Regions from separate parts of the Homo sapiens genome. Here regions 1, 2, 4 and 5 are each linked to region 3. Evidence: promoter capture Hi-C in 16 types of primary human blood cells and fetal thymus (Javierre and others, 2016). All regions are on one chromosome and are shown on one strand. Each heading gives the region's core, a stretch centred on a gene start or on the middle of the fragment in contact. The rest is flanking DNA. Distances are from core to core; before and after follow the strand shown. Region 1 has its middle 34 kb from the start of MTERF1. Region 2 overlaps MTERF1 (mitochondrial transcription termination factor 1). Region 3 holds the start of GATAD1 (GATA zinc finger domain containing 1). Region 4 has its middle 72 kb from the start of SAMD9. Region 5 has its middle 53 kb from the start of MTERF1.

Region 1 (5,742 bases), core at 2,574-5,073, 600 kb after region 3:
TAGAGATGTTGAGGGAGGGAGGCAATGGGAGCATGAAGGTGAGGGGTTTTCTGGGAGGGCAGAGGAAACAGAACTGGCAGGAATGGAAATAGCTTTCAGAGATTTGGGGGGAGTACTAATCTGGGTGATAGCTTAATGAATGGTTGCAACCTGTCCCCTTGCCTTTTAATAAGTCTTTGGATGGAGAGTTGAGGTGGTTCATGTTGATACTGTGGACAGCAAACATTTATAACTGTCATGGAAGCTGGCTTAAAAGATCCCTGGCACAGAAGAATGGTGTGGTCCTTCTTTGAATGGACTGGTGGACTGAGGCAATTAACATCTCATGTGTGATCATGATGGCCTAAGGATCATAAGAGATTTACTTTGTTTTCAGGGCACCATCCTGCTTCCCCATGCTGGTGGGGGGCATTGAAGAGGAGAAGGCAGTCACCCAAAAGTGAATTGGAATATCTTGATACTTCTGGCTGGTGAGGGCAGAGCCAGATTTTTTTTTTTTCTGAGTAGAACATATCCATTTAATGTGAGCTGTCTTGCTCTTAAATGTTGTAAAACAAATTTATACCTTTTTTTGTCCCCCACCCCCACCAAACCGATTGTTATCCAAGTGTGCTTTTTTCTCAACTTAGTCTCAATTAAAAAAGAAAAGATGTGGAAGGCAAATTTGGAAAAACACTTTTATCTCTTGACCTCCTTTGTTAGCAGCTGTAACAATCTTTAGGAAACTTCAAAAGGATACGTGGGAACAAAGGAGAAAAGCCAAGACTGCTGTTCTGTGATGCAGTAGACCAGGAGGAAGAGTGAAACCTTGGTGGAAGCAACAGGTGGTAGCAGTTGGAGGGGAATCAGAACAATCCCAGGGCTGCTGGAAGAAAAGAATGATGGTGTACAGGCTAGACCAAGGAGTGAGGCCTGAGGTGTACCCTGGCAGAAGACTTTTGTCGATTCCTAACTTCCTAGACCCCATCCCATACTTTCACCCCTCAGACCCAGTCTCTGTCTTCATACGCCCTTACATAAATCTTCCACTATGCTGGAGCCCTGGCTCCAGATGATAGTGGCCAATACTGGTGGTTTATATTTAGGACAAGGAAGTTGAACTCCTGTTGCCCAGTAGCAGGGGAGGTCTGCAAGAGGGAAGTGAGGATGATGTTACCAGAAGTTGTGTCACAGGCATAAAAGGTCAGAATTCTTAATGAATTTCCTCAGAGACATTATTATACATCATTCCATAGTATTACTTAACACAGGTGCGTTTTATTCCTATTAAAATATCAGCACAACTATATGTTGGGTTAAATAGGCTTTTAACCTTTTAAATGACCTTTCTTAAGAACCTAACCAGTGGGTATAACATTGTTTCTGTGGTAAAATGCTTTTAAAATCCTACAATAGACTGACAAAAGAGCCTTTGAATACAATCTGTTTGTAAATTGGATTGGCCTGGCTGGGGTAAGGAGGCCCACCCTGTTCTTTAGCTTTAATGTCTACCCTTGTTCAAAGAAGGCAAAGTCTTTTATAGTGACAGGCCACACTGAGTTTAAATAAAGATAAAGATTGGCTCCTTGCAGGAGAGCCTGTCCGATTTAAGATAGGTCATATTTAATGAAATGTGGCATTAAATAGGCCTGCTTCAAATGGGGCAGTTTGTGTAAAGTTCGCTACTATTATCGGACCATCTGTGTTTACTTTTGTGTGAAGGCAGAAGTTTCAGTCTTATTTTGGATCAAAAAATTGCTCAGTGTGATAAGGGGTGTGAAAAGTAAAAAGTAAATCAAAATGGGGATTTTATTTTTTATTGGTTGCCATTTTCAATGGAGAATAAATTAAACATGCAGAGTTAAAAGGAAGGTAAAGAGGAGGTGGTTGACAGCTTAGTCATGTTTTATGTAACACTTGTTTTTCTTTTACATGAACGCATTATACCATCCATCAGGATAAATTAACATGTTGTGGGCCTTTAAAAACTATAAAGAAAATAATTTTAATGGTTCCAATAACAGCTCCAGATGAATGCTGGAAAACAGATATTCCAAACTGTCAAATAGCGTATGTATTGCTTGGCTGTTTTATAACCGCAAGTAAAAGCTGCTTTTGTATGAGGTTTCCTTGACTGCCAATGGAAGAACTGTAACACATTTATTGTGAACAAAATTGGAATGGAAATGAGACGTGTTACAACAGAATGGCACCTAATTCCTTCTTGCCAGTTGCCCTGAATTAACATAATAAGTCATTAGGACAGTAAAAAGTTCTTGGTTAAAAGAAAGAATAATTTAATTAAATAGATTTACAAAAATGACAAGTTCATACATGTATCACTTATGATATGGAAACTTTGTTTGAAAATATGGTTGTCTTATGTGAGAGAATAGAATTATACCCTATATAAATGTATATGTTCAATGGAAAAAAAATCATAAACTTCAGAGGAGAATTTATCGGCGGTATGGAAAACAACTGAAAAGTGTTTGCAACAAAGGCCAGTTCTGACTGCTGTTTACTGCAGGTAAGGGGCTTCAGGATGCTGCCCTATGTTTGAAGGGGTGACTCATGTCATTATTTATTGCGGTTAATTGCTAATGTTTGTGAAGAGCACAGTATGTTGCATAGCAGGACCAAGTAATCCATGGTGACCTTTTGTGCTATCAAAGCTTTATCAATTAGAAGCTCTTGATTATAAATTCATAGGATGCCCAGTGAGTGCCATCAAAGAAAGATTATACTTGGCTTCTTATGCAATCTGATTTTTTTTTTTGTTGGCTCCTCTTCCTTCAAAACTGAACCCTCACCAGGGAACTATTTCTAAATCTGCAAAGTGAAGCATATTCAAAATGTTTTCAGACTTCAAGGAGTATTGTGGTTTTTATAAGCAATTGCAGGAATTTTATAAAAATAGTAGTTATATTTTCCTGATAAATACCTTTCTTCTTGAGACTCCTACACTGGCTATCTTCCTGGTCACTTTTTTCCCCATCTGCTTTGTTCTATTGATGCTAGGCCTGCATGACATTTACAAAAACTTTGTTAAATACTTCAAAATTATAAATTAAAGTCCTTATTTTACTATAATTCTCACTGTGAGTCAGTCTTAAAATATTTGTTCATTTTCATTCACTGATCCCCTGATAATAGGAACTTTGAGTTCTCATTTGCCTTCATGTTGCTACAGCTCTTGACAGTGTTTAATGCCCCATTTCTTGAAATTATCTGCTCTCATGTCTTTTTTTTTTTTTTTTTTTTTGAGATGGAGTCTCGCTCTGTCGCCCAGGCTGGAGTGCGGTGGTGTGATCTTGGCTCACTGCAAGCTCTGCCTCCCGGGTTCACGCCATTCTCCTGCCTCAGCCTCCCGAGTAGCTGGGACTACAGGCACCCGCCACCACGCCCAGCTAATTTTTTGTATTTTTAGTAGAGACGGGGTTTCGCCATGTTAGCCAGGATGGTCTCTATCTCCTGACCTCGTGATCCGCCCGCCTTGGCCTCCCAAAGTGCTGGGATTACAGGCGTGAGCCACCGCACCTGGCCTCTCATGCCTTTTAAGACACTGCAATATCCTGGATTTCTTTCTGTTTACTTTGTCCTTTTTTTTTAAATTGACTCTTCTTCCCGTTTGTTTTCTCTAATTTAGCCTTAACCAAGGCTACAGCAGCAGCCTTTTCTCTCCTTTTCTCTCCTCTAATCTCATTGCTAGCTCTTCTACCAGCAACTGTTTTCCAAACCTTGGGTCCACATTGCCAACTGTTGTCAAACATCTCTACTATCTCCATCAAAATTGTCCAAAATCAGACTCATGGTTTTCCCTTGCCCATATTCAGGATCCTAAATTATGATCAGAATTACTCCCCTAAATCTCCTTGCCAGTTCCACTCTTAGGATTACCACTACTGACTTATCATGTTAGCACTAAGTTGTAGTTCTGCTTTCCCCCACCTCCCACCATCATGGTCTAGTCTACAAGACTGCGTTTCTGCTATGGTTGCTGTTTATAATTGGATTGGAATCGGTGGAAGTCTATGGACCATGGTGTAGTTATTCTGGAATTTATAGATCAGTAAGATAGTTATTCTGGTCTTAACTGGGCTCACTTAGGCATCTATGGTTAGCTATGGGTCTGGAAGTTTGCCCTGCTGATCTTGGCTGGACTTGTTCACATGTTTGAATATCTGCTGGCTGTAGGTTGGTATTTCATCCTCAGAAAGACAGCTTAGATTTGTTGTCATGGCAGAGACAGTGCTTAGAAGTTATAAGCCTCTTGGAACTCATCTGAATGGTAGTGGGAGCCCCAGTGGTTCATTCAAGGCAATAGGAAATGGAGTGAAGGAAGCAGATGGAATATAAGAGGTGGTATAGAAGGCAGGACAGATCTTGAGAGGAAGGATCCAGCTGGAGACTAACTCCAGAATGGTAGCTTCCAGTGAGGAAGCCGAGCATGTCAGGAGTCTACACACAGTGGTGGTAGCTGAGGTGGATTGAGTGTGTTGATGGCACAATTAACAGCCTGTCTGTACTCACAGCCATTTCAGACTTTGCAGCTTTTTCCATTTGTGATGGAGTCTATTTTCCCACTCCTTGAATCTGGGCTTGTCTCATAACTTGTTTTGGCCAGTAAAAAGTAGGTAAAGCCACAAGGTTTTGGCACTCCAGTCTTGAAAGCCTCTGTGGTCTTCCCATTCTCCATTCTCACTGACAGGAGAACTTGCTAAATATTCTCTCTTCAGTCATGCCATCCCTGAACATCTCGTCTAGAGTTGGTTTTACTGTTTTTATTTTCTTTTTTCTATTTTCAGTTCTTTTTAAAAATTATGTTATTATGATTGATAATTATTTTGTTTACTTTTTTTCTTTTTGTTTCTCTAAACTGTGAGATCCATGAGTATAGGATAGCTGTTATCCTAGTGACTATCACAGTGTCTGGCACAAATTAGGGACTCAATAAATATTTGTTGAATTAAATTCTATGAGACCTGGTGAATGAATTTTTAAGAAGCTTTTCAAGTTTCAGATGTGTGATCAAGTTGATGACCACCATAGTATACTTCTTTTCTTTTAGCTACCTCACAGATTCATCTTCTGAATATTATCTTGGCTGGGTGCAGTGAGTCACACCTGCAATCCTAGTGCTTTGGGAGGCTGAGGTTGGAGGATCACTTGAGACCAGCAGTTTGAGACCAGCTTGGGTAACGTACCAAGACCCCATCTCTAGCAAAAGACCTGGGCGTGGTGGTGCATACCTGTAGTCCTAGCTACTTGGGAAGCTTAGGATTACTTGAGCCCAGGAGTTCCAGGCTGCAGTGAGCTATGACTACGCTATTATACTCCTGCCTGGGCAACAGAGTGACACCTTGTCTCTAAAAATATAAGAAAACAAACATTTTCATAGCCTTTGTTCTGCTTCATGGCCTTTGTTTCAGTTTCATATCTATTATCTGCCTATTCCCTATAGTATTTTGCAACTCGAATCTTTAATAAAAAGACTCTGATTGGTCTAGCTTGCCTCTGTTTGAATAGACTTTTCCCACATCAGGACTGGGTGTAGTTAGATGGTCAGCCTGGGGATTAGGTAACCTTGCTTCTCTCTAGCCCAATGATATGTAGCCACAAAGGAAGAAAGTAGAAAGAATAGAACCATGTGACACAAAATATGGCAGCTTAGCAGGCTGTGAGTGTGGCAGGTAATATGATTGGTTTGTCAAGTACAGAAAACTTAATTATATCTCCATGTTTTTACCAATTACAATCAAT
Region 2 (5,675 bases), core at 1,668-4,167, 580 kb after region 3:
TTGGGAGGCCGAGGTGGGAGGATTGCTTGAGCCCAGGAGTTCAAGACCAGCCTGGGTAATACTAGCAAGATATCATTGCTAGTAGGGAAAAAAAAAAAAAAAAAAAGGCCGGCCATAGTGGTGCGCACCTCTAGTCCTAGCTATTCAGAGGCTGAGGTGGAAGGATCCCTTGAGCTCAGAAGTTTGAGATTGCAGTGAGCTACAACTGTGCCACTGAACTCCAGCATGGGCAAGGGTGAGACCCTGTCTCAAAAAATAAATTACAGAAATCTTCAGTAATATTTTGTCATGAGTGAAAAAATCCATGTTTATGATGGGAAAAGATAGAAAATAAACCCCCCAAAAGAAAATAACTATAATCTTATCTCTCAGAGATCATTAACATTTTGGTGACTCTTCCTATTGTTTTTGTTGGTAGACATATCCATACGTGCATGTAATATGAGTAGATGAGTGGCATATATGTTTGAAACCAAACTATTTTATAATTTTTTTAGTGTAATAGATCCTGAACATACTAAGTATTCTTTAGTAACTAATTACAAAATCAAGTATTTACCTATAACATGATTTTTTAATGGCTGCATGAAATTCTGTTCTTTGGATAAACCATAATTTGTCACCATTGGTCAGAGTGAGTAAATTTTAGTACATTAGCAATTTTTTGAAAATCCTACCTAGATTATTTCAGTATTCCGTAGTGTTAATGCATACCACCATGTTTTAATCGTTGGTATATTTTATAACTTAAAATTTTGGTCTAGAAAATATAAATATTAAGAGTGCTGCATTTTGCCGTTCTCCAAATGTCAGATGGATCTGTAAAACTTCATTTTTAATGGAAACCATTCTAAATTATTGCCATAAATTTGAGCACTTTCAAATAACTGCAAGAATTTGGATAATATCACAGATTAAAAAGAAAAAAAATGAGTTTCTTCCAGATGAATTTAGCAGGAAGGAATTTAAAAAGTGAATATTTATAGATGGGTTTATTGGGTTATTAAACTAGTAATTTCTCCCCTTAAATAATTTCTAAGGCTGGGTAGGTACATGGTCTATGGCTAAAGATCCAACAATATAGCTTTCCTGTAAAAAAACAAAACAAAACCCTGACTACTGGCTCCTTCCTTGTTAGTCTGTAATGCCTCCTTACTTGCTACCATCTAGTGGAGATCCAGTAGAGAACTGTTGATGGCAGAACCCTAGCCACAAACTTTGGTAATAGTCCATTGTTATACAGTTCAGGAAAAGTTTGGCACAAGCGAGCTAGAATAGCAGGACTGTATTATTATTAGATTTTGGGAAGAAATAGAAGATACACTGATGGAATTTCATTTTCTGTCTCAGTTTCACTATTTTTCTGATCAGTATTTGGGATTTATTTGTCCTTAATAGAAATATTATGTGAAGATTAATGAACTTTTGTACATGAATTGCTTTATGTTAATTATGAACAATTTTAGTATGATGATATGCTAATTCTTTCATTTCCATTTTGAATATCCCAGTGCCACTTTCACCAGCTCTCAAGGTACCTTCAAATTCTGCCCACCATAATTCTCTTTCTTTTAAAAGTTTACCTTGGAAATGAATTTATTCTGTGGTAATAATCATTGTAAAAGTCTTTGAACAATACAAAGAAACAAAGTCTCAGCTAACCTATTTATCATGAGGTTGAAGAGATATCCTTTTATTCTTAGTTCACAAAGGGGTTTATTTATTTAAATCAGGGATGAAAGATGGTTTTTGAAAAAAAATCCTTTAAAAGTAATCTCTTAATCATTTAATGAATGACATCAGTGGATTTCTGCATATCACTTTTTGTTTTTACTTAAAACCTATGCCCTATTCAATTTACTAATATTTTACTTAGATTTTCATTAGTATTCACAAGGGAGATTGGTCTACAGATCCTTCCTACCTTTTATTATGAAAGTTTTGGTACATAGATTTTTTTTTTTTTTTTTTTTTTTTTTAATAGGGGAAGGAGGTTGCCACTTTGTCAGGTTTTTGGATCGGGGCTGTGCTAGCCTCAAGATAATTTGGAAGCTTACTATTTTTTCCCTATGTTTTGAAACTGTTTGAAAACTGGAAATGATCATTTCTTTAAAGTTTGGCACAACTTTGAAATTATCTGGGCCTGGTGTTTTGTTCAGAATAGATCTTTTACAACAATGGAAAGTTGTTGTAAAGGCTTATATGAAAGCTATTGACCTGTATCTTTTTGGTAGACAGCAATATAAAGCTCTCTCTTATTGTAGTTAATACATTTTGGTTTGAATTCTACATTGAAATTAACATTGCCATGCTTTATGTCTATTCAAATAATTGTACTTGTTCAAACAGCTTTACTTGGAATAACCAAAAACTGGAAGTAACCCAATGGACATTGGAACAACATGGAATTGAAAAGTACATTGTGATATATTCAGGCAGTGGAATATTACTCACCAATATGAAATAATGAAATATTGATACATGCAACTACATGAGCAAATCTCAAAATATGCTGAATGAAAGAAGCGAAAGAGTAAAATCTTTATTATTCAGTTTACATAAAATTCTAGACAGTGCTCACTAATTTGTGGTGACAGAAAGCAGATCATTGGTTACCGAGATGGGGTGGATGGATGAAGAAGGCCATGAAGAAAGGACTGCAAAAGACTACAGGGAAACTTTTGGGAGTGATCTATATATTCATCATCTTGATTGTGGTGATTGTTTTGTGAGTCAAAATGTATCAAATTATATGTTTTAAATATGTGCAGTTTAGTACACTTCAGTTATACCTCAGCAAAGCTGAAAAATCCATTCAACTCTGATTTGAAATGCCATCTTCGTCTGATGCTGTTTACATGTCTCTGAGTGTGTTTCTAGGCTCTCTTCAAGTCTACTAAACAAATATATTTGACTTTATGTTTCTATATTGACATAAATAGTTAGACAGTATCTTTTCAGTAAAAGTGTTGGGAGAACTGGGAAGCCACCTGAAAAAAAATATTGATAGATTCGTATTCATACACCAGGATAAATTCCAAGTGGAACAGTCATGAGCTCCAAACCACTCAAGCCCCTGCCTTGGCATTACACTTAATGACCTATACTTAAGTCAGGCCATGACATGAACTAAACACTGGTACTAATATCAGAATCTTTTTCATAGGGGGCTTCCTGGAACTTGACTTGGACCTATGGGCTAGAATTTACCGAAAGCAGCTGACCCGTGCTTTGCTTTTACTATTCCAGGAATGCAGATAAAGTCTAACTTCCAGCTAGACATGGTGGCTCGTGTCTGTATTCCTAGCTACTCGGGAGCCTGAGATGAGAGGATTCCTTGAGCCCAGGAGTTTGAGTCCATCCTGGGCAACATAGGAAGCCACCATCTCTTAAAGAAGAAAAAAAAAAAACCTAGATTTTGACCTTTTCGTCACAAGAAAACAAAGGCTCTTATGAAGTCCCATGCCCTGTTAAGCACTGGTTTATTTAATTAGTTAATGGATTGGGTTTACGCTGTCATACAGCTACATATAGCCTCCTTTTCCAAGGAAAGTAGGCTGCAACCACCCAAGTTAGAGGCAATCTTTTTTTTTTTTTTTTTTTTTTTTTTTTTTGCTTTACTGCAGTTAGGGAGAACTGATTGTCATGTTGTACCCTAAATATCAACTAAAGTGTCTATGACAAAATTAGTGCAGTTAGATCAGCATTATCCCACTCTGTATGTTTGAATTTCTCTCTCTGACCTGCACAGCTACTTCAGAAGCCCTTCTGAATGAAGCTTTATGTTTGCAATTCATATAAGTACAATACAGCTGGCTATAGCTTACTGTTTTAGCTGAATGTGATAAATTATTCACAGAATTAAAGTTTAACTTTGTGATAACAAGTATATAAATTATATATAACTGATTAAAAAGATTAAAATTAGGTCTTAATCTGTGTTTACTTGTGTGTAGAACTTCATGAACTGTAGGGGGAACTAGATAGAGGTTTTGCTGTACAGTTTCTAAAGCCAATTAGCTCTAAATCTGGCTGATAATCCAAACTAAATTAAGCGTCCTTTAAATGCCAAAAGAGGTCGGCACTGTGCCATTTTTTCTGTAGGTTGTCAGCCTTAAGCTGTAAGAAAATAAACAGATACTTTTGCATATATATATTTCCCTGTTAGTTTAATGTCTGAAACTGTTTTCTTTTAATGGTTATTCTTTTTCTTTTCTCTCTCCCTTCCTTCCTTCCTTCCTTTCTTCCTTCCTTCCTTCCTTCCTTCCTTCCTTCCTTCCTCTCTCTCTCTCTTTCTTTCTTTTTCAAGTACCACTTTTTCATTTTTCATTGTCTTAGTTCTGAAATTACATTAGGGTGCTTTTTTCATTTTCATCTAAGTTTAACACCTTGTTTGTTACACAATGTTAATGCTTAAAAATATACAGCAATGTCTTTATACTTATTCAGTTACTACTGCCAAATCTTCTGTTCTTACTTAATTTTCACCTGTCAACTTCTGTGGTGGTATTTGTTGTGTATTTGTACACAAAACCCAACATAAAGTGGTATGTTCTCCACATGATTGCAACTGATCTTAAATTTTCATCTTTTTGGGGGTTTAGGAGTTTTTTTAAATAGAGATCCTAATTGTGACATCTGAAGTGAGGGAATCAGATTTTGTTGTGAGACTAAATGTTATATGCACATTATAAACTATCCTTGATTTCTCCATCATTTAGAAAAAGTTGCAAACAAATGCATGTGCTCTTGGGTCTCCCATGGCATCTAATAGCTGCTTTAATGACCTTGCCCACTTAACTGTGATTTGGTAAATAGTTCTAGATCTGAGGATTGATATGTGAGGGAAAATGGTAGAATTCGAAAAAAGTAAAATAAATGCGGTATAAAGCACCATATGTACAAAGCATGCCCTAGATGTTATGGTGGCTACAAAAGAGGTTGAAGTCTCTGGAGTTAAATGATGTTATGTCTTTATTGTCTGCATCATGCCCTAATCAAGTTGAATTCTGGTTCAAATTCTACCTGACATCTGAAGATTTGACAGCAGACTCTGGAACAGATCTGTCATCAGATAGAGAAATTCTCTCCCTCTCCCAATCCCCTAGGGTGAAGTTAATACTTCTTTAGGTAAGTTTTGCCTTGTGCTCCTATATTTTCTTCCCTAGAGTCCGTGAGCAAGGGTGACACCTTGGCAATGGCTTGGTCAACTAGGACCTTCAGAGAACCTAAGTACACCCTCTCCTCCTTTCCCAGTCAAACTGCTATTTATATAAAGACCACATTCTGAGTTACTGCCAACATTGATGCTGTTGGGAGCATGGAAGAGCTCAGTAGTAGCTTTGATAGTTTGTTGGTTTGTTTATAAAAATAATATTTTTTTCCTGATTGCAAAATAGTCATGTAATTACCCAACATTGGAAAACACAGAAGAGCGCACACACAAAAAGTACTTATAATTCCAATAACCCTGAGATAGTACTTGTTAATATTATTTAATATAACTTTCTAGTTTTTTTTCCCCATGCATGTATGTTTTGTGTAGAAAATAAATACCCATTTTCTGGCTAAAATTAATTAAATTATTGAACACATATTTGTTGAGCACTGACTATGCACTATTGTGCTTGACACTGGATTCTTATGTAATAACTATTTTAAACCTGTTTTTATAA
Region 3 (5,622 bases), core at 1,421-3,920:
TGCCACAACATAGAAAGTAGGCCTCCCCAGATGTGTCTTGCTTAGTACCATTGAAGAAAGGTTGCAGAGAAACGATAATGAAATAATTGCTGAGAACACGGTATACCATACTTAAAAGGAAAAAAATGTGCATATGTGATACAAATATCAATAACATGTTTTGTGTAATCAACAAATGCCTCACTTAACTATAAAAATCTTAAATAAATTAGAAGCAACTAGTCTGAATAAGAAAATACTTTGGGGAAGGGAACATCACACACTGGGGCCTGTCGGAGATGGGGGCCAAGGGGAGGGAGAGCATTAGGACAAATATCTAATGCATGCGGGGCTTAAAACCTAGATGATGGGTTGATAGGTGCAGCAAACCACCATGGCACGTATACCTATGTAACAAACCTGCACATTCTGCACATGTATCCCAGAACTTAAAGTAAAATTAAAAAAAATTCATTAAATTAAATTAAAAAAAAAAAAAGAAAATAGTCTGCCATCTGCATAAGTCTACTGCAGGGTCCCTTTGTGTTTTAGAAATAAATATGGCCAACTTCAGAAACGTCTTTACGGGTAAGTGAAACATTCCTGTTCTGAAAGAAAAGAATATCATACTGAGACTTAAAAAAATAGTCCATAATGCACTGTCCACTGTGTTTGAACATTATCCCTTGTTTATAAAAACTGAGAATTTAATTGCAATAAAAATATGCTTTCAACTACTTCCAGCACAGGTCTTTCAACAATCTCTTTTCTTAGAGCAGAAGAGGAGATAAGGCTTAGCAAAATTTTTGACTCATATTCATCAAATACATCATCATCATAAGTCAGTAAGATACATTTTCTGGGGCTTTAATAACAAATAAATATGCAAATGATGAGTTCTAGTGTTAATATTTACTTAGATTTTTAAAGAATGAAAAAAAAAAGTTTTCTTAGTGTACCTGGCCATATCAAGAACCATAATCTCTCCTCTTCCTTTCCATAGAGAACCCCAAAAAATGGGCTCAAGGTTGATGTTTCTTTTAAACCCATATTTTATATTTTCCAGGGGAAAAAATAAAAGCTAAAAAACAAAAAGGAAAGAGTATTATTAACTTTATAAACAGTGAGCCTCCTGCAACAGAGCTCATTCCCTTTTGGGGAATCTGGACCATTCCCCAGAATACTAAGGAAGGGCTACCAAGGGCAGAGTCCAAGTTCAATGGTGAGAAATGAAGGCAGTGGCAGGATACACACAACGTCATTACAGTAAAAGGCACTGTCCACAAATATCTTACATTTTTCAATTTAAATATATGTCTTCTCCCTTTTCCTTTGGTGGAGACTTTCTTTTCAGCAGCCGGAGCAGATTTGTATTTAGTGTTTCTGAGCCGAGCAGACCTCCTGTGAATTTCCTGCTTACTCTGTTACACAAACAAATTAAAGAACAAAAAGAGAAAGAAGTAAAAAGTGCATAAAGGTTGCAGTACAATCATCTTACAAGGATCCCAGAGTATGTACTTTATAAGAGCATTTAACAATTAAGATTGCCCTTTTGCTTTTCAAGAGAAGTAATTACAGCAACTAGGCTAAGTAAAACCGGAAGTTCAGCACCCGGAATCTCGGAGCTCGCTGGACAGGCGTCTCCAGAGCCTCCAAAAGGTGTGAGCTGCTTGTAATAGGGCAGGAGGCGGGAGTAGGAGTCAGTCTTGACCAAGACAAACACTATTCATTTGTTGTGTCTACAATAGAGAAAAACACTTAACAACTTTACTCCCTAAGGCCAGAGAACGTAGTAGGTTATGGCGCCCCCTGCAACGGAATACTTAAGCTGCCATTTACAATAATGACATAATAATCTTACTTCATAACCTGATATGACAAAACCTTTAACAAGGAATGAGGTCCAGCGCCTGCATTTGTGGCATGACACTGTATACGACTGTGTAGACATGTGTATATTGAGATTTTCTTAAGGGCTTTACATCTTGGTTCTTATTGCTTTGAATTTCTTACAATAACAGGTGCTTCGGAATGGGCCAAACGAAAGATCTCAGTAGGAGGTGGGGAGGGGCGTTCCAGCCAGCAGGAGCACGGCGATCGGGGAAGCCCGCGCCCGCCCGCTCCCAGCCAGCCCGTCCCCGCCCGCCTAGCACCTGGTCGGCCTCCGCCGGCGGGAGGGGCCGGAGGAGCTCACCTGCTTGCCGCCCCCGCCCCCGTTGCTCTGCGGAGGGGTGGCGGAGGTGCTGGCGAAGGTCGCCGCGCCGAAGCCGCCGCCGCCGCTGCCCCCAGTCCCTCCAGCCGCCCCCGAGCCTGCGCCCCCGCTGCCCGCGCCGCCCCGGCCAGTGCAATGATGGCAGAGGATCTCCCCCTGCGCTCCCTTCTTCCACATGGAGGACGACGTGGTCTTGCATACGCTGCAGGTGGGCTTCAGGCCCAGCGGCATGGTGGCCGGCTCGGGCGGCCCCCGCGGGCGCAGAGACACGGGAATGGCGGACGGTAGCCCGGCCGCCCCCTGGTCGGCCCGCCACTCCCGGCGATAGGAAGAGCGGTGAGAGCGTCGGCACGGAGCTGCCGGTGAAAGGACCAGGCCGCTGGCGCTGCCCCGTGGAGGCGGGAAGCGGGTTCCGCCGGCTCCGCAGGCGGAGGCCAGGATTCCCTGGCCCGAGGCACTGGGAAGCAGGACTGGGAAAGGGATCTGGCCGGGGTGGGGGGGACGCGGAGACTTCCGGCGGTGAGCTGGCCCCAGGGCCCCGCAGCCCGACCGCCTGACCGGAAGTGCAGCACCCGGAATTACTGGGAGCTTGCTGCAGTTCCGCTTGCTGTCGCCTAGGGGCAGGGTTCTCAAACTTTTTGGTCTCAGGCCTAGAATTTGCCGGGTAAAATACAGGACGCCCAATTAAATGTGACTTTCAGGTAAACGACGAACAATTTTTTTAGCGTGAGTGTATCCCATGCAATAATGGTTTATCCGAGAGGCGTTTAACTGGGGGTCCTGTATTTTTATGTGCTAAATCTGGCAATCCAGGTCTGGCGTGGTGGCTCACGCCTGCAATCCCAGCACTTTGGGAGACCAAGGCCGGCGGATTACTTGAGCTCAGGAGTTCGAGATCAGCCTGGCCAACGTGGTGAAACCCCTTCTCTAATAAATATACAAAAATTAGCCGGGCTCAGTGGCGGGCTCTGGGGTAATCCCAGCTACCCTGGAGGCTGCGGCAGAAGAATCTCTTGAGCGCGGGAGGTGGAGGCTGCAGTGAGCCAAGATCGCGCCATTGCACTCCAGCCTGGGGGATAGAGTGAGACTCCGTCTCAAAAAAAAAAAAAAAATCTGGCAATCTTACTTAGGAACCCTTTACACTCTTAAAAATTATACTTTGGACATCGCCCTACACCTCCCCCATGTCTATACTTTTGTTTAGTTGAATTCAGAGCATGCCGTTTATGGACATCGACAAAGGGTTCAGAAAATGCCATCCACTGACATCTATGTATTAGAAATTGAAATTGAGACATTTTACAGCCTAAGATGTCAAGCGCACATTCTTCAGCCGTTGGATAATATCGTTGCAAATCCTGTGGACTCTGAAGAGTATACCGATTAGAGAATGCGGAGAAAATCGAATAGCTGGCTGTTATTCAATTCAAAACTGTTGGAAAACAGTTTTGGCTCTGAGGACCCAGCAGTTGACAAACAGCAGGCCTGGGACAAGAGCAGTATGAGAAGTCAGATCGCCTCTTTTAATGTCACTAGTCAGTACAGGCCTCGCCAGACAAGTCTCTCCTCAGCCTCACTTGGAAGAACATGCCCTCTCTTCATGATCCTGGGTTTCCTAGACTTAGTATCCTTGGAAAGGTCTTGATGAATATATTGTGGTGGGAAGCAGTGGGGAGAAACAAACGCCTATTATGTCACAAAACCACATTTAGTGCTTATAACAACCTTGGAATGAGATATTATCAGATTTTACTGTTAATTGGTGATCAACGGAGGCACTTCTATGTGGACTGGCTGTCATTATAGCTGCTGCCCTTGGCACCAATTTCGAGGAGGGCTTTGGAACAGCCCTCTGGGGTGTGGGTTGTGGCTCAGTCACCTCCCCTCTAAATCTCAGTTTCCTTAACAGTAAAAATAAGTTTCCAGGACTGTTATGGGGATTAGGGCCAACTGTAAAAGTGGCTGAGGAGACTAGGTAAAGAGTGTTGTCTCACTTTAGAACAATGCTGAAGGTGTTTAGAGCCTGCCATCCTAAAATATGCCACTTTGGCATACTGATTCTTCTGAGCCAGAGGCAATGGAGCAAAAACAGATGCAGGGAAGGCTGTCTGACCACCCTCTTTCTGTTTGAAGCGGAACATAAAAGTTCCCTTGTGAAAGGTGCCCTTTCTGTACCAGGAAGAGGAGAATATTATTGCCAGAGGCAGAGTTGCCACTGAGAAGAATCTACAAACAAAACCTTACAAAAATTTGTAACCCATATTTTCCATTAACTTTCTACATACGGTTCTTCGTCACTTTCCCACAATTTGCCAGCCTTAGCCCAAGCCCCTTTGTCTTGTCACATCCCTGCAATTTATTATTTTTTGTTTAAAAGGACATATAAGCTTTCGGGCCTAGTAACTTCTATGGGTCTTTATTTTTCTTACAAAGCCTCCTGTGCATGTACAAAAATATTAAAACTTTTATGCCTTTTCCAGTAAATCTGTCTTATGTTAGTGTAATTCCCATGCCCAGCTACAGAACCAAAGAGGTGAGAAGAGGCCAGGCGTAGTGGCTCATGCCTGTAATCCCAACACTTTGGGAGGCTGAGGCAGGTGGATCACCTGAGGTCAGGAGTTCAAGACCAGCCTGGCCAACATAGCGAAACCCCATCTCTACTAAAATTACAAAAAATTAGCTGTGTGTAGTGGCAGGCACCTGTAATCCCAGCTACTCGGGAGGCTGAGGCGGGAGAATTGCTTGAACCTGGGAGGCAGAGGTTGCAGCCTGGGCGACAGAGCGAGAGACTCCATCAAAAAAAAAAAAAAAAAAGGTGAGGAGGAAGTTTCTCCTCACCTACAGTGTGAGGAAATCTAGGCACTTGATTTCCATGCTCCTGAATGTCTCTCCATTTGGGAACATATACCTCTCCTTGCAACTCATCTGCAAGTGACTCCCTCTCATTCACTGAAAACTTTGGCCCATAACTCACCAGCTTCCTCTCCACTACAAGACACTGCCATGGATCAGGTCAATATCCACATGTACAGTTGTCCCTCAGTATCCATGGAGGATTGATTCCAGGACTCCCGATGATACCAAAATCCACAATCCATAAATGCTCAAGTCCCTTATATAAAATGGCATAGAATTTGCATATAACCTATGCGCACCCTCCTGTGTGCTTTAAATCATCTCTAGATTACTTATACCAAATATGAAATAAATGCTATATAAATAGTTCCTATACTGTATTGGTTTATTATTATTGTCATATTGTTCATATATTTATCTATTTTTGAGAATATTTTCGGTCTGTGGTTGGTTGAGTTTGTGGATGTGGAACCCATGGCTGTGGAGGGCCAACTGAATAACCACCCAACAGCAGGCTTCTCAACTCCTCCTCATCCCACTCATCTTCATCCTCTGTCCTTGTCAGCTCCCCAGTC
Region 4 (5,690 bases), core at 1,683-4,182, 600 kb before region 3:
ATAATTTTTCTTCTCTCTATTCTTCAGACTGGATAGTTTCTATGGATGTCTTCTAATTAACTAATCCTTTGCTCTTAAATTCATCCAGTAAATGTTATTTCAGACATTGTACTTTTTAGCTTGAAAATTTATATTTCATTCTTTTTTAGTTTGCATTTTTCTGCTGAAATATTCCATCTGTCCACTTATTATGACTATCTTATTCTTTAATTCCTTAAACAAATATATAATAGCTAATTTTAAGTCTTTGTAACATCTGAGTCATCTTGGGTCATTTACTGTTTGGTCACGTTTCCCCATTTCTTCATATGTATGTCTAGTACTTCTTTAGTGTATACTGGACATCATAAAGAATACGTTATAAAGTCTAGTTTCTGTTTTTTCCTCTCAACAGTACCGAATTTTGTGGTCCATGGCATTTAAATTACTGGCAGCTCACCAATGAACTTTTAGAGGCTTAATTTTATGCTTTGATGGGGTGTGTTTCCATTGTGTTATTAGTCCTAAAGCAAATCTCTGGAATCTGATAACTAGTCTTTATAACTAAAGCATGAGTTTTCTAGAGTTTAAGTGGAAATCTTGAAAAACTACCAAGCCCCTCAAACTTGGCAGGACTCAAACTCTAAACTCTGTCTTGGTGCAGTGAACAAGAGCTTAAAAATTTCTGTTCTGTTCTTTCAGTCTCTCAGCTACAGTTTTTCACTGGTCAACTTGGAGTTTCCCCTTCACACGTACAGTTCAGGGTCACCAAAGATTAGAGAGGAGATTATGAGCAGATTTGGGGCCTACCTAGCCCCACTGTGATCTTTCTCTCTGGGATTTTTACCCCTCAATTTCCAGATGTTGTGAAAGCTCCAAACACTATCCTTTGACTCCTCAGGTCAATAAGACTGTAGCTTTCTGCTTCAATTCTAGCTGTCCTGCACCAAGTGGAGTATAGAGCACCTTTGGAAAAATCAATAAATACATTGATTTTATCTAATGTGGTTCCTTATTTCAAGGATCAAATTCTCTCTGGTTTTGGGCTGCTTTGTTGTCTCCCCAGTATGTTTCAATTGTTTTCTTTTAATATTTTGTCCAGAGTTCACAATTGTTATCTGTAGGAAGGGCAGTCTGATACAAACTACTGCAACACAACCAGAACCAGAACATATGCAGGCAACTTTTTCATTCTATTTCACTTCAGTAAAAAGTTTTGCACAGGTAGCATAAATTACAGCAAATTTGAAATTTTAGGTGAATCTTTTATTTTTGAATCACAGGTTTCCATTTCTAGATAATCATTGCTTTATTAAAAGGTAGATGCTCCAAAGAGAGAAATAAATGCTTGCCTTCCTTGAGACAATCTCAAAGGAAATGCCATGTCTGTTTTTGTTTAATTTAGTATTTGTAATATAAAGAGGCTTAAGACCTCAGCCTTCTAAAAGTTTTCAACCTGAAAGATGTGAGTTTATTATTATCTATGTGGCCTCCCAGTTTTGCAAATAATCCCTTGAAAACCTCCCTATGGCTGTTTATGTAAATAAGAGATAACTCTGTTTTAATTCATTTCACTGGGTATAGTGTACAAATTAAGGGAAGGAGAGCCAGGTATAAGAATCTAGTGAGCTGGGAAATATGGGATGTTTATTTTGTAGGATGTGGTTTAGAGATTCCTGGTTGGAATGGCCCATACCATAAGAGTTCCGGGTGGGTGCCATGCCACACAGGAAACAATTGTAGCCTGCCCCTGGGAGTAAGCCAGAGAGCTAACAAATTCAGTGTGCATTGTAATGCTTCATCAACACGCCTTCTGCAGGGCCTGCCCTCTCTGCTGGGTCACTGACCTTTATAAGTGCACAGTCATGGCCATCGCCTGACAGGCATGAAAAGGAGACAGACAATGGACGAGAAGGAGACATGCACAGAGGGGGAAAATGCACTCATTCAAGGGATTTACTGGTCAAGGATGTCATGTCCTATGTCCAGTCCCAGAATGCATGTGGTGGTGTTTAAGCCATGCATATCTAGCTACATAAATATAAGGAATGATTATCATCAATATATGAACATAAAAATATCCCTGAGAATCGTGATTGATTTTTGTGGCAGCACAGAACAATGTAGAAAGTAGTTTTGTGCTATAAAATTTTTCACCAATTTATAAAAGCTTTAGATCATTAAAATTGATTAGAGTGTCATACAGCCTGATTTCAAAGGCATTCCAGACTCCAGAGGCGGCATCAGATAGTGACCCGCAAGCTGGGGAGAAAAACATTGAATTTGCATCCTGAATTTGTCCTAAAGGAGCTGTGCAACCTTTGGCCATTTGTTGCAAACAATCAGGCTCCCATTTCTTCATCTGTATACGAGTAGGTGCCATCTTAGTACAATGATACCATTTCCCCGATATTTTAGGATTTCTGTGTTTGTTACTATTCCTTTGCATCCTGAGATGATTCATATAGTTTCTTTTTCAGGAAGTTTAGGAAACATGTTAACACAGTGATTTTCAAAATGAACTTCTGAAACCCTATGTATTTCCCCTGTTCAGTAAGACATACTGGTATTATTTTACATATTGGAATGCCATGTGGACTTTTATTTCTTTTTATTCCATTTTTAAAAGGAGTCTATTTCAAGTCAAAAAAAGCATTTGAAAACCAGTTCTGAAGGATGTTCCTTTTACCTCTGATGGTGTATGATTCTTGTAATGAAAAGGGGATGCATAAATTTGTATCTTTTATTAATAAGCATTTTTCAAAGGCTCTTAACAGTGATATTAAATTAAATGTCTCTCCTATTGATTCTTGATCAAAATAGTGTTCTTATAGAAAAACTATGTATAGCAGATGCATCTGGAAAGGGACATGTGTTCTGAGAACCCCACTCTAGAATGGGAGCACTGTTCTAGAGTACATATACAGCCTCTACCACTACAGAGATTGTCACACAGAGTGGTATTATCACACTGGGTTTGTCAGCATTTCATGGTCTCTAATGGTCTCCTGTGCTTATAGAGCCCAGGGGCATCTCAAAAATGGCATCTTGGCTGGCATTCCACCTCAAAGTGCCTAACAACCCATCTTGCTTCTTGAAGAACTTCTGCTGATTATCAGTGGTTCAGGAAATGTAATCTAATTTTTAACACAAACCAAACCCAAACATAATTACATGCTAAATATGTAGAAAGAACAAGCATATGATGCAGTTCAAAGCCAAATAAACGTGATTTCTATTTTTGATCATTGAAAAGTAATCTTTCTCACCACTGCCTTCTGTAAATATAAGGTAATGTGTGTGAGCCACATGCAAGTGGGTTCCTAAATCCCACTGTATATTTAATATTTATAGTAACTTTCACTCAAGAATCTACTCCCATATGTGCTAGCAATCATTTTTCCACTTTGAAAGCGTGAAGAAATTATTCCCATTTTACAAAAGTAAATAAATTTAGTCCTGGAGAGGATAACATTACAGTTCATTTTCATGTATAAATGGCCTTCCCTGCTAGAGACTGAGCACCTCTATGGGAAAAGAGTGGTGTCCGATTAAATGCTAAGGTGAAAAGTCCAGTTCATCCTCTGGAAGAAAAGAATGATATGTCCTTGTTCATCCCTAAGCCTTCCGGGTTGGAATAACGATAACTGGGATTTCATGAGAACCTAGAAGAGTGATCTTGTTTAATGTATTCACTCCCAAAATACAGTTTCTGGACTACCCTCTAGAAGCTTTTATTCTGTTGTATACAAACTCATTATCATTCATACAGCCTAAAATTTCACATAATCATTTGCTGAACACTTTGCAGTTAGGCTTTTTAGATATATTTTTAGTTTGTTCTTGATTTCCCTATTTGTTTTTTTTTTCTTGCTGGGGGAGAGGGTGAGACATATTGAAATTTAATAGAGATGATTGTTAGACAGAATTTTGAAGGAAGTGAGTGTACTCACCCCACCCACTTCATCAGGAGATGCTTCCTCTGTGAGGTGGGATTTGAGTCATATTAATTTGTCCCAGACCACACCAAAATTAAGCTGTTCACGTCTGAAACATTCCATGAATTCAGTTGCGAGGAGGAATTTGTTCAGCCATGTTATGGATTCATATTTCTCTCCTCTCCCAAGAAGGTCTGGGTGTCCTTATAAGGGAGAACGCCTCTGTTTCCCACAGTGTGGAGAGCGAAATAAATACTCTCTCACAGTCAATGCAGAGGTAACTTTTTTTTAATGGATTAAAAAAAAAAAAAAGCAGTTCTGAGAGTCCATCACTGTTTCAGCATCCCCATTCAGAGAGGGGGCTTTTGTCTCTCTCTCAGTGGGAGCTGCCATTTTAATGGGGCCTCCAGCAGGGCCTGGTTTGATGATGTGAAGTAGGCCTGGAAGAATCGTGGAATTTTTTTTTTAATTTAGATTTTGGTTAATTTAACCATACTGGCTTTCAAATGAACTGAAATGTAAAAGTGAATCCACGGTAAATGTCCCTCAGAAGCTGCTACCAGATAATTTCAGCGATTTCTCATCTCTGAAGCTCTCTCATGTGAAAACCAATCCCTTGAAGTTCTAATAGGCATTACCGGCCGTCTACCCCCAACCCCCAATCTATTTGCAAAGATGAAAATCGGGAGAATTCATTCTTAAAAATATGCATACGCATACACAGACACAAACGTGCACTCCTAAATGCTAAATGAAAACATTGCTTTTAGCTGATTGGTGATGCCAAGCCAGGATTGGGATAGCTTTGTGGTAATTCTGGGGTTTCCCTTTTGCCTGAGTCATGAACACCACGGTACATGGAATGCTCCCCGACCCCAGAGCCTTGGGAGTGCCAAAGCTACTCCCCAAGCCCTCGCCCCAGAGGAGGATTCCAAAATCCCCCACAGCACACTTTCTAGATAAAACTGTTGCTCTCAGTAATGAGGCCACAGCCTGCAGAGCCAAACTGGCCCGCAGGCCGCTTTCTGCAGGCCTGGCGCCGGACCTGCTCTGCCCCCGCCCGCTCCGCAGCCCCCGCGGCCACACAGTGGCTGCGCCTGGCAGCTGCGCGCCCAGATGCCAACCGCTGGAATGTGTTTTATGTTCCCGCGTCTCTGCCTGGCTGGCCTCGGGGGAAGGCTCTTCCCTGGCCTCTCCGGCTCCGGCGCTGGGCTGCGGCAGCTGGGGAACCGATGTGCGATCATTTTACACATGAGCTAGCTGTTCACCCTTCCAGGAACTGTTTGCCTGCACTAATTCCGCGCAAGATGCACACACTGAGCCCCTTTGTAGGGCTGAAGGATGACAGTCTCTCCAGCCTAGATTGATTTAGTAAATGACTGACTGCATGGGCCTGAGTACCTGGGTATTCGTGTGTGTGTGTGTGTGTGTGTGTGTGTGTGTGTGTGTGTGTGTGTGTGTGTGTTGACTTAAAGGCGCTCCCTCTTTGCAGAAATAAATGAATTAATGAATTTTTAAAAAGAAGGTAGAACTAACGCATTTTCGAAAAAAGCAAACATCAGGGAATGTGCAGTTTGTTACAACATATCTATCCATGATTCCATTTTGGGGGAATTTATATGAAGATATCCCACAATCGGGCAATCGCCAAACAAGAAAGCATCCTTAATTGAGTTGAAACTGGGGGTAAGGGGACAGAAAAATCGCCCCCATAAAATAATTTCAAATTCAGCCTTGTGTTTCCCAGTAATTGGGCTGTCTGAGGATGAGACT
Region 5 (5,721 bases), core at 2,955-5,454, 620 kb after region 3:
AAGGACTTTTAGAGTCTCTACTCAAATTAGAGATACGGCTAATACAAGTGCCATCTAGTGGCCAATAGGGTTTTTGCTTAAAAAGTCATTAAAATGCCTGGCTGAGCACGGTGGCTCACCTCTGTAATCCCAGCACTTTGGGAGGCCGAGGCAGGCGGATCACCTGAGGTTAGGAGTTCAAGACCAACCTGGCCAACATGATGAACCCCCGTCTCTACTAAAAATACAAAAACTTAGCTGGGTGTGGTGACGGGCGTCTTTAATCCCAGCTACTCGGTAGGCTGAGGCAGGAGAATTGCTTGAACCCGGGAGGCAGAGGTTGCAGTGAGCCAAGATCCTGCCATTGCACTCTAGCTGGGCAATAAGAGCAAAACTCCGTCTAAAAAAAAAAATCATTAAAATGCTAGAGAATTTGATCTTTTCCATCTTACCAGCTTGAGGCAGTAGCTCTAGGACATGAATGTTATACTTTATTAAATTCTGAAAATAATGATACTAGTTATGTTGAAGTTACTGAAGCACAGGTAGTTCTGATTTTTCCATCTTTGGAGGAGGTAGTAGAGATAGGGGGGCTTGGACTACAAAGTTGCTTTGCTATACAGAAAGTATTCCTTGCTATCACTTATCAAGGGGTTGCAGAGTATTTGCCATTCATTCATTCATTCATTCTTCAGCAATTTATTCAAAATAGAGTCAATATTTATTTATTGCCAACTAGGTTTAAGACACTGTACTTAAGATTAATCAGACTAGATGTTCTGTCCTTTCAAGGGCTTATTGTTTAATTGGGAACATAGGCATCCATGCCTTTAATGTAACTGGTTTTGTGAGATTTATAAAGGTGACTCAGTCATGGTCCTAATCTTAAGGAAGTTATAGCCTATTAGAAGAAATAGGAAACTCCCAGAACTGCTCTAGGTACAGTCCTGGGGAGATAAGATGTGTGCCCACAAAACTATAAGTAATGGAAGATGGTGGCTGAATCGGATGGCTCCATCTGTAAGTGCTATAAGAAGGCAGAAGCTGCCTCTCTCAGCTCAACACACTGCCTTCCCCATGTAGCTCTGTATATTCTGGAATCAACAGACGATGTTTTGTGTAGAAGGCACAACAATTTAGCTACTTTTCATATGGTTATCAAATGCAACATAGCAGTGTAATGAAAAACAAGCAGGCCCTGTCATTGTAGTTGACATTCAAATCAACTAATTTGTCTTAAAACTTTCATATTTTTAGCTAGCTTATGCAGCTAATAAATTTAAATAAAAAATTCTAGTGGCTGTTACTCGGTTAATTTTGACGATAAAAAAATGGCACCAGAAGTCAAATAACAAAGAAAAGCTTGTATCTGAATTTAGCTACAGCAAATTAATAATCTCCCAAGTCCCTTGCCCTTATAGCAGCTTTAAATTTTGTAAAGTTTCCCAACTCTGCGTGCCATTTTCCTCCTTCAGGTTCATGAATGATACCTTTCATTGACAATATCAAACTGATATTTTTACTGTAAATCCTTTCAAACATTCAGAGACAGATTTCATTTTAATGATTTGAATTTGAGGGTTTATTCCCCCAGTGCTTTGGTGGATTGTTTTTCTAAATACTTAGATGTAATAGGGAACTTAAAACATGATTTATAAAGCAAGTAAGATATATGACATTAGTATTACCTACTAAAGTCTGCAAGGGGAAAATTGATCTCACTTTTTTTTCCTTCACAAAATTCCCTGAATCACTATTCAATTAAAATCTCTAACCCAACACCCCAGATTGTATGTATTAATAATATAGATCTATACGATGTAATGCTATCTTTAAAAATAGACATAAGAAAACACTTTGAGTGATTTATGGTATAATACATTTTGGAGATAAGATATATATATATATATACACATACACATACACACACACACACACACACACACACACACACACACAATGCCTAGGGATGTCATTTTGACTAACAAGGGCCAGGCACGTGGCTCCTGCCTGTAATCCCAGCCCTTTGGAAGGCCGAGATGGGTGGATAGCTTGAGGCCAGGAGTTTGAGACCAGCCTGGCCAACATGGTGAAACCCCATCTCCACAAAAAATACAAAAATTAGCTGGGTGCAATGGTGTGTGCCTGTAGTTCTAGGTATTTGGGAGGCTGAGTTGGGAGAATTGCTTGAGCCCAGGAGGTCGAGACTACTGTGAGCCAAGATCACGCCACTGCTCTCCAGCCCAGGTGACAGAGACCCTGTCTCAAAAAACAAAAATAAAAAACTTTGGCTAACACGAAGGCCCCTGTAGTCCCAGCTACTTGGGAGGCTGAGGTGGGAGTATTGCTTGAGCCCTGGAGGTCAAGGCTGTGGTGAGCCGTGATCATACCACTGCACTCCAGCCTGGGTGACAGAGACCTTGTCTGAAAAAACCAAAAAGCAAAAAACAAAAAACTTTGACTAACATGAAGGGAACATTTGGTTACTTTTGTACTCTTGTAGGGAGGTGAGTAATAATGGTTAATGTGAGTGGGACTTAAGCAAATCCTGGCTCTAATGTAATTTTTGTGGGTCTTATGGTTTTGTAAAAAGAGAGAAAGCATCTTTGAGCTACAAGCCATTATTTCTGAGATATCACTGAGAGTGGACAACAGCAACTCTCTTTTTCTGGGCAAAGGAAACGGCTCACAGATGTTCCTGCTGGACACAGCGTTGTTCACAGCTTAATCTTAAAAGTAAGATTATTTTTGTAATTTTACTGACCAAATACAAATGTGGATTTAAGTGCTTGTTTTTAACGATTACAGAGAGAACAACCTGACATAAACTAGCAAGCCAACAGGTGAAGTTTCGACACACCTCCTTTAATAAAGGTATTTTATTTATTCATTCATTCAACAAATATTGCTTAAGCACCCAGTAGGTATAAAGTAGTTTCAAGTGCTAGAGTTTCAACAGTGGACAAAATAGGCTATAATTCTGGCCCATAGGCCAAAACTTATGTTCTAGTAGATGGATATAGGCAAAAAACAAAATAAATGAGTAAAGCATACAGTATGCAGATGGTGATAAGTGCTGTGGCAAAAAATAAAGCAGGAAAAGGGTAGAGGGAGTTCCAGGGTGAATGAAGGGATTCAAATTTAAATAAAAGGGTCAGAGGAGACCTCATTGAGAAGGTGATATTTAAAGAGAAAGGAAGCAAAGGAGTGAGCCATAAAAATATATACAGGGGAAGAGCGTTCTAGGCAGAGGAAATGGCAGGTGCAAAGGCCCAGAGGTAGGAGAGAACTTAATGTATTAACTGAACAACAAAGGGGTCAATAAGGAAGGAGCAATAAAAGAGGGGTAAGTATAGAAGATGAGATCAGAGATGTAATAGTGTCAGGTCATGCAGGTCATCGTAAAGACTTTGGCATTTACTATGAGAGGGAAGGAGCCACTGGAAGGTTGTAAGCATCTGACTGATGTTTTAAAATAATCTCTTTGGCTCTTTAATTGAAATAGGAACCAAGGTTATCAGCTAAGAGTGAGGATAAAGGAGAAGGTGCTAGAAGATTGAGGAGAGATTATGAGGCAGTTGCCTAGGAGAGTGGGACAATTACTTGAATAGGAAATATACTGTGATTACAAAGTAGCATAGTGGGCCCACTGGGGTTTAGTGGTCATGAATTTAAAGTGAGATCAATCAGCCACATAGAGCAGACAGAGTAGAATTTAATGAGGGTTGAAGTTTTGCCAAGTGACTAAGAGAAGAGAGAGTGGAGTAGGGAATTGAGTGTCATGCAGGACAATGCTTTAGTGATTGACTGTGGAATTTAGGCTGGGCAAGGGAAGAAGTGAGTATATGGGCGACAAGAAAAATGTTGATTATAATTGAATCCTTTTATATAATGTTATTCTTTCTAGACTTTTCCACCTAAATATCTGAGGCTTTAAAACACTAGCAGAAGATATCCAGAATGGCTGATTTAAAAATTCAGTTACTTGGTTTGTAGATTTCATTAAGAAAAAATTATACCCATCAAAATCCATCTTTTAACATTATTTGCTATATCTTAGCTAAAAAAACCCCACCACAACTGAAAATCAAAGAAATAAACAAAACCTCCCAAACTAAATAGGACCAAGATTAAGGAAAAAAAATCTCACATATTCAGCTGGAGATATTCAAGGAACAAATGAAAATCACATTAACAGTTTCCTGTTGTACCAGACACTGGCTGTGTAGTAGGGAAACACTTATGAATAGTAGCAGAATAATGGTTATAGTGTATTTGCCATTGGAACATTTATCTCATTTAAAAAATCATGATGTTTCTCTGTTGCCTTTAAAGAAAGACTATTAGACTCTAAGCAGGTAAAACTTGAAAGAAGTGTAAAATAAATTATTTAATGCTTTTTCTCAAATACAGGATAAAATGCCAACATTTGGAGTTTCATAAAATACACATGGTAGTTAGGCTGCTAGAGTAAAAATTGCATCAGAATGTGTAAAGATTCCTAAAATTAAGTTCTAATGAGGACTTGAAAACAGCTGTTTCCTTATTGTTTTCCATAAGCCTTTCTAGGTATAGATACTATAAAAATATTGACAATTCAAGTTCTGCAGTTGGTTAAACATCAAGGATTATTAGCTATGCAATTATTTTTAAGAAAGGAATTAAAAGTGACTTACAAACTTTTATTAGGGCAAGCCCACAACAAATATAGATTTTATTGTTCAGTAGTTTCCAAAGTTCAAACAGTTTTTCAAAAGTTTTGTGAGGAAAATGATGGATAGGTGGCAGGACTAACTTACACCTCCCACTTGGATGGACAGAGCAGTGTGTGGAGACTCACACTGTGAACTTTTGCTCCAAGAACTAGTGCAGGAATACACCAGGAAAGTCGAGAGAATCCACAGACCCTTTGAAGGAAGTGCAGGCTCTGGGAGACATCCAAAAAACTGTGAGTGCCCAAAGTGTGAAGGTGTGAAAGGGGGATCGTCTGCCCCTGAACACACATCCTCACTGGGGAACCTGAAGGTCCAGATCATGGGAGAAGGATTTGACCTTACCTGGAGCTGAGATAAACATAGAGAGCTGAGTGAAATACAGGGGTAGACGAAGCAGTGGGAAGAGCATGTGGGCACTCTTTGTTCCCAGGGAAGCCATTTCTGACTTTGTCTCACAGGGGTCCTTGGGAAGGGATACCAGTGGAATTGGGGAAAGACTACAGGGAGAAGGAAACCTCCAGCTGAACTTTGTAACAATTTCAACCAAACATGAAGTTTCCTGGACAGAATCTGGGTGAGAGGGTGAACTGGGAGCGCAGAAACAGCACAGAAGTTGTGGCAGGCAGGAAGGCATGAAACCTGAAAGCCCTACTTGCTTTCCCAGCGGGAAGGCCTGGAGCCTGGGACAAATCCTCAGCCCTGCTTACCCACTGCCTGGAAATAAACCTGGTGCTGTTGGGGGGGTTGGCACGGTGAAAGTAAGACCGGCCTTTTGGGCTGTGTGGGAGCTGGGTGAGAGCTAGGTGGGGGCTGTAACTGCTGGCTTTCCTCCACTTCCCTGGCAACCTGCATGATGCAGCAGAGGCAGCCATAATCACCCTGGGAATATAACTCCATTGGCCTGAAAATGACACCCCCATTCCCCACAGCAGCCTCAGCAAGCACTGCCTGAGGAGAGTCTGAGCTCAGACATGCCTTACCCTGCCCCAAACTTATGGTCTTTCTCTACCCACCCTGGTAGCTGAAG

What was found. The method cuts DNA at HindIII sites, captures the fragments that hold promoters and counts their contacts. A CHiCAGO score of 5 or more calls a contact.
Region 1: a fragment that was not itself captured here is called in contact with the fragment with the promoter of GATAD1 in region 3 in 3 of 17 cell types (endothelial precursors, fetal thymus and erythroblasts); the score reaches 7.2 in endothelial precursors.
Region 2: a fragment that was not itself captured here is called in contact with the fragment with the promoter of GATAD1 in region 3 in 4 of 17 cell types (naive CD8 T cells, endothelial precursors, fetal thymus and 1 more); the score reaches 6.2 in naive CD8 T cells.
Region 4: a fragment that was not itself captured here is called in contact with the fragment with the promoter of GATAD1 in region 3 in 3 of 17 cell types (activated CD4 T cells, neutrophils and total CD8 T cells); the score reaches 5.3 in activated CD4 T cells.
Region 5: a fragment that was not itself captured here is called in contact with the fragment with the promoter of GATAD1 in region 3 in 11 of 17 cell types (naive CD8 T cells, naive CD4 T cells, non-activated CD4 T cells and 8 more); the score reaches 11.6 in naive CD8 T cells.

The regions. Positions count from the first base shown.
Region 1 is chr7:91,843,753-91,849,494 of GRCh38, reverse strand. No RefSeq gene overlaps it. Among named protein-coding and RNA genes, the nearest start is that of MTERF1, 34 kb to the left of the region's middle. The HindIII fragment of the contact is 2,333 bases long and covers 2,657-4,989 here.
Region 2 is chr7:91,865,358-91,871,032 of GRCh38, reverse strand. It overlaps MTERF1 (mitochondrial transcription termination factor 1), which reads left to right. Exons shown (of 3, transcript NM_006980.5): 3 at 1-104. Among named protein-coding and RNA genes, the nearest start is that of MTERF1, 13 kb to the left of the region's middle. The HindIII fragment of the contact is 1,726 bases long and covers 2,055-3,780 here.
Region 3 is chr7:92,444,530-92,450,151 of GRCh38, reverse strand. It overlaps GATAD1 (GATA zinc finger domain containing 1), which reads right to left and starts at 2,670. Exons shown (of 5, transcript NM_021167.5): 1 at 2,174-2,670; 2 at 1,275-1,400. The coding sequence starts at 2,422. RefSeq lists an enhancer at 1,501-1,550 and a silencer at 1,981-2,750. The HindIII fragment of the contact is 4,596 bases long and covers 1-4,580 here.
Region 4 is chr7:93,042,942-93,048,631 of GRCh38, reverse strand. No RefSeq gene overlaps it. Among named protein-coding and RNA genes, the nearest start is that of SAMD9, 72 kb to the left of the region's middle. RefSeq lists an enhancer at 4,040-4,771. The HindIII fragment of the contact is 1,561 bases long and covers 2,152-3,712 here.
Region 5 is chr7:91,824,547-91,830,267 of GRCh38, reverse strand. No RefSeq gene overlaps it. Among named protein-coding and RNA genes, the nearest start is that of MTERF1, 53 kb to the left of the region's middle. The HindIII fragment of the contact is 5,722 bases long and covers 1,344-5,721 here.